2 separate regions of the Homo sapiens genome follow, and region 2 is linked to region 1. The links are contacts of gene promoters, found by promoter capture Hi-C in blood cells and fetal thymus (Javierre and others, 2016). All regions are on one chromosome and are shown on one strand. The core of a region is centred on a gene start or on the middle of the fragment in contact, and the rest is flanking DNA. Distances in the headings are between cores, read along the strand shown. Region 1 holds the start of MET (MET proto-oncogene, receptor tyrosine kinase). Region 2 has its middle 77 kb from the start of TES.

Region 1 (4,779 bases), core at 1,681-4,180:
GTGTATCTATCATTTATTACTGAGAAGTGACTATTTATTTTGCACTGAGCAAAACCCATGAAGAAACTCTGCCCTAAGGGCTTGGTGTCAAAAACACTAGTTTCAGCATACACCAGCCAGGAAAAGAAGGCTCACTTCCGGACACTTGAGTTTCTACATACATTTTCTCCCCTTAAGAGGGCACAATGAGGAAATTGAGTATCCTATGAATAAACACAGCAGACCAAGGAAATCTTAGGGATTTAGACCACGGAAAAGAAAGCGTAGATGGCTCTGGCGAGAATCACTAAGCCTAATGCCTAAAGAAGAAACGAGCAAACTGGGCTGGAGAAATGGGGGCACGGAAGGCCTTGAAAGCAGCTCTGACCAAACCAAGGGAAAGGGTTGAGGAGGAAGAGGACAGAGAAATGGGAGGTAATCTGAATGTGTGAGGAACTGTGCTCACCATGGGGGTGTTGCCATGTCTTTGGTGCAGCCACTTGGAGAAAATAAGCCAGTTAGAGGATGTTAGCTCCTCTGAGTTATTCACGTTGTTTTGAGATGACCACATTTGAGAAAAAGTTAATTTGAGACTATTATGTAGATCTGCAGAAGGATAATATGACTAATGCTACTTCAAACACTATTTTAAAAACAGCTAAGGAAATTGATTTTTGAAATGTATTTCTTAGTCTAGCCCTCATTAAGACAATTTTTTTTTAAAGATTTCAAGATTAATGCAAGGCATATACTTACATAGTCTTAAAAGGAATTTATAAAATATGGGTATTTCTCCTGCTTAGCAAAGGGTCATTTTTCTCTATTATAGGTTTAAAAGTAGTGAAAATATTAGTTATGAGCTTTCGTATTGACTGGCTATGATTAATCTGGTACATTTTTTATCATGAAGATAAACTCCATCAACTAATTTTGAAAGCATGTAGTATACATCTAATGTAAACCCCTACTGCCATGTATCAAGAACAAAGCAATTTTGAAAAAGCAGTAGTCGGCAGACTGTCTTCTATATGCCACAAATTCCATCATGTTAAAAGCAAAATATATTTAAGTTAATAACTATAGCTTATACACCATTAAGTTTGAAAACGGAATAGAATTTTTAAAACAGCAGTACATTTTATAGGCTATCAGACACATTTTTGTACTACCAAAATTTCTTATGAATGATGTAAATTTTCCCTCTGTTATTCAGCAGTTCAAAAAGAATGAACATTGAATACACCACAGACTTGCAAATGATAGGAACCAAAGTACCTCACTTATGTTCCATTATGGAAGTTTACACGTTCAAAACAAAGCTCAATTAGCTTAGATCAAGGAAGGAAAGCTATGTACCTGTAAATAATCCAAGCACCACTTACACTGTTTACATAAAAATGCAATTTATGTCCCTGTAGCACAGAGAAACATGATGTACATCATTTTCAGATCATCTTCATGCAGAAAAAATTCATTAGTCAGCTATAATAGTTTAGCTGTAAGGGAATATAATGTTTTTCTGAATCCATTTGCATGGCAATGTGCATGTGTCTGGCTGATGAAAGCGACAGAATAAACCCCCACCCAAAGCTACAGAATGTGAACAGTCTTCTTAAAATTCAAGAGAGGGTCCAGATAGTCTATATTGCCTCCAACGTCAGTTCTTACAATCCTCTCACATTCATGGACCATCTTAACATAGCAATTAAAGTATCTTGATTATTTTGCCTAAGAGAGTTGACAATATTTCATTCTGCCCGAGGGCTCCTTTGAACATAAAACTGTGATAAGGTAAAATACACTGGGCAACTATTCATGCGTGAGCCATTGGAGCCCTCTCCAACTGCCAAATTAGCAAATGGCTCTTTTAAAACATGAAAGATATGAATGGGAAACCGTACTTCGGAGTAAATTCTGCATTGACAATAGTCAGGGAAAGTACTTTCACTGGTGCTTTAATTATCGGGTCAGCACTACGACTGGCCACATCGCTCAGCCTCTGGTTATAATCTATTTCACCTAATAAGATAGATGTCCACCACAAGCCCCAGAAAGAGATAAGGTACGATGGAAAATTGATGGATCACAAGCCCCGCGTGATTGCCAGAAATGAATTCAGACTTTCACAGAAACACCTGCCCCTTGGAAGGACCCCAACATAACACAGATAAAGCAAGGCTGGGAACAAGGAAACAGCTCGGCTCAAACCTTGCCAGCTGCATCACGGTGGGACGAGGATGACCGGATCCCTTTTGTAAGGGCTGAGTCAGATCCCAGCTTTAAAACTTGCTGGGCCGTAACAGTCACACATCACCCACTGTCCCAGCGCCCCTCTCCCTCCTAAGTCATACAGGTGGCCATCAGAAGCAACCCCCTAAAAAGACAAGCCCCATTCTAGTTTCGTCCTCGCCGTGGCCACGTCTCTTCAGTTTCCGAAGCCCCTAAACTCTAGCCCACCTACGTGGTTTTGCCCCCTGGAACAGCAGTCAGGTCTCTTAGGGGAACAAAGAAAGCAGAACCCCTGAGGCGAGGGATTGGGTACTGGATCTGAAAGGGGCTGCAATTTTACCTTTCGGTGCCCAGGAACCAGTGGAGAAGTCAGCGGCGCAAGGACCACACGCGCGCTCCGCGCCTCCCCGCCTCCTCTCAGCAAGTCAGCTGTCGCCCCGCATCTGGCTCGCGCCCTCCACTCGGCTCCGCATCTGCTCACAAAGCGCTCGGGGCGCCGCGGGCGGCGAGGGCCTCCGGGTCACCTGCGGCCGGGCTGAGCCCAGCGCCCCGCCCGCCCGCCGGCCGCACTCCCTCCGCCCCTTCCCACACGCGCGCTGCCCTGCCAGTGACTCAGCCGGGCATCGGCGCGCGCGGCCCGCGGCGGCCCGGGCGCGTTGGGGCCGGAGGCACCGCCAGGCGACCAGACTGAGGCGCTCGCCTGCCCGCCCCAGCACGTGTCTGTCTGCCTCGCGTGCTGTCCGTCCCCTAGTCCGCGGGTTCCGAGGACCGCTGAGGTGGGGACTGGCACCACCCAGAGGGAAATCGGCCCCCGCCCTTCCTGCCGTCCGCGCCGCGCCTGGCCCCGCGGGGGTCGCGTTTCCTCCCGCCTCTGCCCCGCCCACGACAAGGTGAAACTTTCTAGGTGGAGAAGTTTTCTCGCCCTGGCTGCGCGCTCTCCTCCCCCAGCTCAGGCAGTCTGAAGTTAGCACAGCCGGAGATAAGCGGGACCGAGTCTCCCCCTCCTGGCGCTTGGGAGGCGAGTGTCACCCCGGGCTCAGATGCAGGGCGCGCACCCTCCTGGCACCCCGCTCGCTGACCCCGGGAAGGGCGCGAGCTTTGCTCTCGGCCTCTCCCACGTCTCCGCTAACCGCCCCGCGCCCACCCGGGTTTAGAGAGATTTGGGCACCGCAGAAACAAGGAGTTCATTGTTAGAGGCGGAGGTAGAAGTGGATGGACGAATTGTCCCAATGATTTCATTATGCAACGATTATCCTCTACTATAATAACTCAAATTTCTGCAAGGAAGAACAACAGAGGAGTTTAACCCTGAGGAGACTTCCATTTCTTTTTTTCTTTTTTTTTTTTTCCATAGCCGGAAGCAGGCTGATTAAATAACTGGGCAAATAGCGATGAATAAGCACAACAGAACAAAAGTTTAATTCTTGAATGTTGAAATCTTATGATGATTTTTAAAAAAGAGCTTTTGGGGCCTCGGTGAACTCTATTAGGAGTAATTGTGTTGGGATAACTTTGTATTTCGCTATAAAAATTGGCACCTACAAGAGTAAATGAACACTCAAAGGTAATAGGATCTAAGGAACGGGCATTGCCGGTTAGAACTTGAGTTCGTTCCGGCTCTCATACCAACTTGTTCAATCATGGCAATAGATAATGAGACATAGATATCTTCGTTATTGAAAGTCATGGGTTAAAATAACAGTTACTATGCAGGTTCAGTTCTTATTTACTACAGAATGAAACATAGAAAAATGTAGTAAGAATAGTTATCATTTCCCAAGTGCCAGGCACTTGGAAATGATAATGTAACCAGAGGTTACATAAGAGTGATTTCAGTCCTCAAAAGAGATTACCTCTTGATTCCCCAGTTTTATGGAAAAGGAAAGTTCCCATTACGTTACTAAAGTCTTGCATTGAACCATTTTGCAGGTAAAGAAACTGAGTCCCTAAAAGTTCCCAGGAGAGTCACATAGCTGGTTAGTAAGAGGGGCAAAGTTAGAACTTAGCTTTCAGCCCAGTCAGGTGTCCTTCACACCATACCAAGAGGCCTCAGCAGGCTAAATAAACAACGCGGCCTGACTGGAGATTTCCTGATACGGCATGGCATAATTTATCAATGACTATAGCTCATTAAAAAACACTAATTTACTGGTAATAAGGCACTGGGCCTATTTATGGACAGATCAATTACAGATTTTGGGTTCAGTAACAGCTTTCAATAAAAGATGAATAAATTAATGAATTTAAAAAGTTTTACACACACACACACACACACACACACACACACACAGAGCCATAGTTGTCTAAAGGAATGATTAGAGTGCTGTTTCTATTTCCTGGTTTCCATAGCAATATGTTAACTGGATTTTTAGATCACATTATGTAGTTGCCTTAACAGGTTTTCTGAGTTTGAGTGCCATGATAAAAATATAAAAGAAAAAATTTACAATTAAAGTTGTAGAAAGACCCAGAAAAGCCAATGCAAACTGGAAAATAAAATAGATGATAAATACAAACAACCCGTTGTGTATTTTCAGCACTGAAACTTTCTAGTTTCTAATAACTAACAAA
Region 2 (4,779 bases), core at 1,660-4,159, 540 kb after region 1:
AAATCTTAGCACTATGTTCTATTTACAGCTGTACCATAGGCTTGATGAAATCTAGTATAATTTAATCAATTTTAGCAGATATGCGTATTTGAGTTTTATGTAACTTTAATTAATATACATTTTAAAACAATACTTTTGAATTATTAAATTGCTTCGAATTGTTTTCATTAATAGAGTTCATAATATTACTGCCTAAAAAGTCATATTCGTTACCAATGTCATTTTACTGTAGTCCCTCTCCTTTGTTTTTTCTGAGTAAATTAAATGCATGGCTTAAAAACCAAATTCCTATACACTGAGTACAATAATCAAGATACTTCTTGGTGATATAGAGAAACATATAGAAAGGATTGGTGTAATTGAACCAAAGAAAGTGTAGAGGTATGGAAAATAAATGAGTTATATACATACAAATAAGCTTTAAAAAGAGTCTTCTAATATTCACTGTGAGGAACTAGTCTTTGCAGAGAACCCTAAAAGCTAATTTTCTAAAGCAATTTTTTTGTATTAGTTTTTGTGATCATACACATTATAGAAAGGTAGTAACTAAATAAATATTATCTTAGTTTAATTGGATTAAAAATTAGAAATGCAAATTCTCCTCATACTATATCTATAAGCCCTCATCTCTGCTTTTATGGTAATACCCTTTTAATGGTTTAAGCCTATGAAGAAAAAACACTGAAGATTTTTAACTAGCCACTTTGCAGGGGGCAGAAAGGAGCAAAGAAGATTTAGTGGTGAAAAGAGCAAATAAATAGGTGCTCCAAGATTAAAAAGAGGGTAGAAGTGCATGCTGAGCTGTTGAAAGACCTCTCTGTGTTTAAAGAAAAATATTGTTTGGTGCTTTCACCAGTGCATGATCAAAATAAGAGGTACAAATTAGTTCATGGCTGCTGAAGCTACAAAACATCATGCAGAGCGCTGTCTTTGGGAACGTTTTAATGAGGAGAAGAGGTCATCAGAGTGTGACATTGCTTTTCAGAATTCTTCAAGAACAACACAGACTTCCTGTTCCAAATGTGGTAGAGAATAAAACAACCTTAGTAGTAATCGTACAACTTTTGAACCATGTTCCTTGGAAATGCTGTACCGTGCTCATTTTGTAGCTTTAGTTAGCTATCTCAAAGGAAACGCTTCCATATTTTCCATGTGCCCTTATTTCAAAAGTACAGTGAAACGGTGGAGCTTTAACATGGATTATATTTATAAAATAAAGTTTTATTCAGGCTTCTAAAGAGATTTTAATGTTTTCATTGCTCCAGGTGAAATGGTACACGGTGGCTCTGTTCATTAACATTTAGCATCAGTGCAAAAAAATCAAGGATTACCACATACAGCATAAAAGGAGGGATAGTATGACTTTGAAATTAAATTCACTACAATCTTAGTTTTGACGCATTTCAAAATGTGATTTTAAAATGTATAAGTTGTTAATGATATTCTAGGTCAAATATTCATAGTCCAATATCAAGTCCTACAGAGACTGGCATTATTCAAATGTGCAACGTATTTGAGCAGGAGCTGAAGAGGTTTTCCTGATGCTTTATAAATAAGACATTTATTTTAGTTTCAAAGGCCAGTATTATAACATTATTTAATACTTTAAGTATAATTGGTGCATTTATTTCCACTCTACCACAAAGCTATAGCATACCTTTTGTTTTCCATTAATATGAACATATTTGTAAGATGTGTATAATTAGAGAAAGTATTTGGGTTCATATACTTAATGCAGTTATCAAAAAAGGGCGAAGAAGACTTCTAATTTTTCGTATAGCAATGCTCACAGTCTTATTAACCTGTTTTCATGTAATTTTTTCCTTCAAAATAAATGATTCAAAACTAACCACATTTACTCTTGATATGTAAAAGTAATAAAAAGAAGTGAATAAAAAAAATTTCAGAGACCCAAAGGGAAGGGTTTGAACTAGAATTTAGGTGGAAAACAGGTCATTTCTGTGCATAGTAATGTTTCTGATTAGCTTTTAAGTAAGAGGTGATTCAATTTGTGTACAATGTGTAATTGATTTAGAAGCAGCAATATATGGTATACATTTTTCCTTCCCTCTTTCTTTTTATTCTTATTTTTTATATCTAGCATGAGAACAGAAGTCAAGCATAGACACCCTGCTTTAAATATGATAAAGGATAAAAGCTGTCATTCTAGTTTCACAGCTTTTCAACTATTTAATCTAAAAGTTTCTGAACTTACACAGATCATTTACTTGACTCAGTCTTTTATATTAATTTTATTTCTTTTAATGTATGCAGCCTTTGTTCTTAAATATTCTTATTCATAAACCAGACACATTTAAGTTGACATCCTTAGCATGTAGAATTTTTCTACAAAGACCTAGTGAGGCAGTTATTTTTAGCTTAAGCTTTTAGTCTGGATTGACTGGCCTGCTATCTCTTGGCTTGGTTTGCCAGCTTTTTCTGTCAGTGATTACACATCAGGAGCTTATGTTGATCTAATTTTTTTTTGTTGTTGCTATTGTTTTGCATTATTACTGCTCAGGACCTGTTCTTCTCTTTTACCTGCTTAACTAATTCAATAGTATTCTACTTCATAAACATCGCTCTCTAATCTTAAAGATGTCTTAGGCATCTAAAAAGCTGCTATTCATAAAGTTTTAGCGTTTACTACAGTACCATAGGTTAAGCTCTGAAAGATAACACAAGAACATGAGAAGTAAAGAGGTAAATTTTCTTTTTCTTTTAATTATTTCAAAGAAAATTCAGTCAGGAAAAAAAAGCTACATTTTTGGGAAATCAACAAGAGGGGCATGAAAAGTCTTTAATTTAAATGATTAAATTATGTTTCCCAGAAATCATTTATTGGCAAAGAATGTTTTTCCCCATCCCCCTACTTTTTTTTTTTTTTTCTGAGACAGAGTCTTGTTCTGTCACCCAGGCTGGAGTGCAGGGGCGTGATCTCAGCTCACTGCAATGTCCACTTTGTGGGGTTCCTCAGTCCCCTGTGTAGCTGGGAATACTGGCACACGCCACCACGTCTGGCTAATTTTTGTATTCTTAGTAGAGATGGGGTTTCACCCTGTTGGCCAAGCTGGTCTCGAACTCCTGGCCTCAAGTCATCTGCCTGCCTTGGCCCCCCAAAGTGCTGGGATTACAGGCATGAACCACCGTGCCTGGCCAGACTTTTCTAATTAAGGAAAGAATTATTTTCGTTTGGTACATAACACGTTTGTAGTTTTGTTGCCGAGAATCTAAACATAAGGTATTGTGAGGTAAACAAAAATTAAATCACTCTTTGTCATTATGTAACTTTTGAAAATTGACAAAAACTGAAAAGATTATAAGCAACTTAAAAATCGATGATAGCTTTTATTGCATACATTTATTTTCTTTTTAAGCACTGTAATAATTTATTTTCTAAAGTAGTCTTAAAACTGTTTTGAAGAAAAGCTTAAAAATTAATGAAACAAAGCTACAAAGTTGACAATGTATTGAAAAGAGGACAGATAAATGAGATAAAAGACAAAAAACACAATTGGTGAAATTTTATATGCATATTAATTAAAATATTCACTGTAAACATTCACAACAAAATTTAATGATGCTTTGCCATTTCAGGAAAAGATTTCTCACTTTTTTCCAGCTAACTAATATTCTATAGCTTGTTTAAAAGTTGTTTTAACGCTATAGTTCTCAAAGAATGTTCTATAGTTCCCGAGGTGTCTCCTAAAACATTTTATTGCTAAAATGTTATTTTCCATTTTCACAGTTTGAATATTTGCACTTACTGTGCAAAAGCAATGGTGAATAAATTGCATGTGCCTTTTTATGAATGAAGGCCGTGGCACCAAACCGCTAGTCAGTCATTATATTCTTCACTGCCATGCACTCACAGTTAAAGAAAACAATGCCAACTTTACTTAGGATTGCCTTTGATGAAGCTGTAAAAATTATTAACTTTATTAGACCTGATCCTTGAGCATATTCAGTTTTTCGAGAGTTATACTTAGCTGATAATATTCTAAGCTTTGATCTTTTTTGCATATTTAAAAAAATTCACTGTAGACCTGAATAGCCAACTACTTTACCTGATGCCAGACCCAAGAAGCAGAAATTTGTTCAAATCCTTAAGAAAACATTAAGAAATAGCATTTTTGAACAGTGCCATATAAACAACACTAAAGGATATGGTTTATGGTAGAGTTAGGGGATTTCCATGAGTAATTTTGATTACATACATTTCTTTGACTTATAGGCCAACTTTATGCACTAATTCCTTAAAATGATGCCGTTGGCTTCTCTGCAGTACATCTTATCACCTGCTATGCATGTTTTGCTGATCTAGGGGAAACAGCATACTTTATGATGGAAAGAAAAAAAGCCAACCATTCTGACCTCGCCATCAAATGTGCTTTACAGGCTTTTGGAGCATAAAGTGAAGCATAATGACCTAATATGATTATAGCAAGAGTAAAACTTCAAAGGAAAATTTTTAGGAGTGCAGAAAGTGGCAACAATAATTAAGCACCTGGATCTTACTATTTATTGTGCCCCTGTGGGAAAAGCTCATCTCAATTCACTTTATATTTAATGTGCGTTAATATCTCAAGGGTACTAATACTGTAAATCATTATTGCAATGGATACCTCTTAGGGCAGAGGCTAATCTAAATTTTATCATTGCTTAGCAAACTCTTTAAGGGGAGTGGAGATGATGATAGAAACAAGATGGAACAATACTTGAGGAAACAATTTTTTTTCAAGTACACTCATGTTAGCTAGAAAAAAATGTTTAAATATA

The links. The method cuts DNA at HindIII sites, captures the fragments that hold promoters and counts their contacts. A CHiCAGO score of 5 or more calls a contact.
Region 2: a fragment that was not itself captured here is called in contact with the fragment with the promoter of MET in region 1 in 1 of 17 cell types (naive B cells); the score reaches 5.1 in naive B cells.

The regions. Positions count from the first base shown.
Region 1 is chr7:116,670,347-116,675,125 of GRCh38, reverse strand. It overlaps MET (MET proto-oncogene, receptor tyrosine kinase), which reads right to left and starts at 2,930. Exons shown (of 21, transcript NM_000245.4): 1 at 2,549-2,930. The region is part of intron 1 of COMETT (cytosolic oncogenic antisense to MET transcript); the gene reads left to right. RefSeq lists silencers at 2,763-2,952, 3,013-3,142, 3,273-3,322. The HindIII fragment of the contact is 13,748 bases long and covers 1-4,779 here.
Region 2 is chr7:116,131,647-116,136,425 of GRCh38, reverse strand. It overlaps a transcript of TFEC not described here. Among named protein-coding and RNA genes, the nearest start is that of TES, 77 kb to the left of the region's middle. The HindIII fragment of the contact is 1,045 bases long and covers 2,387-3,431 here.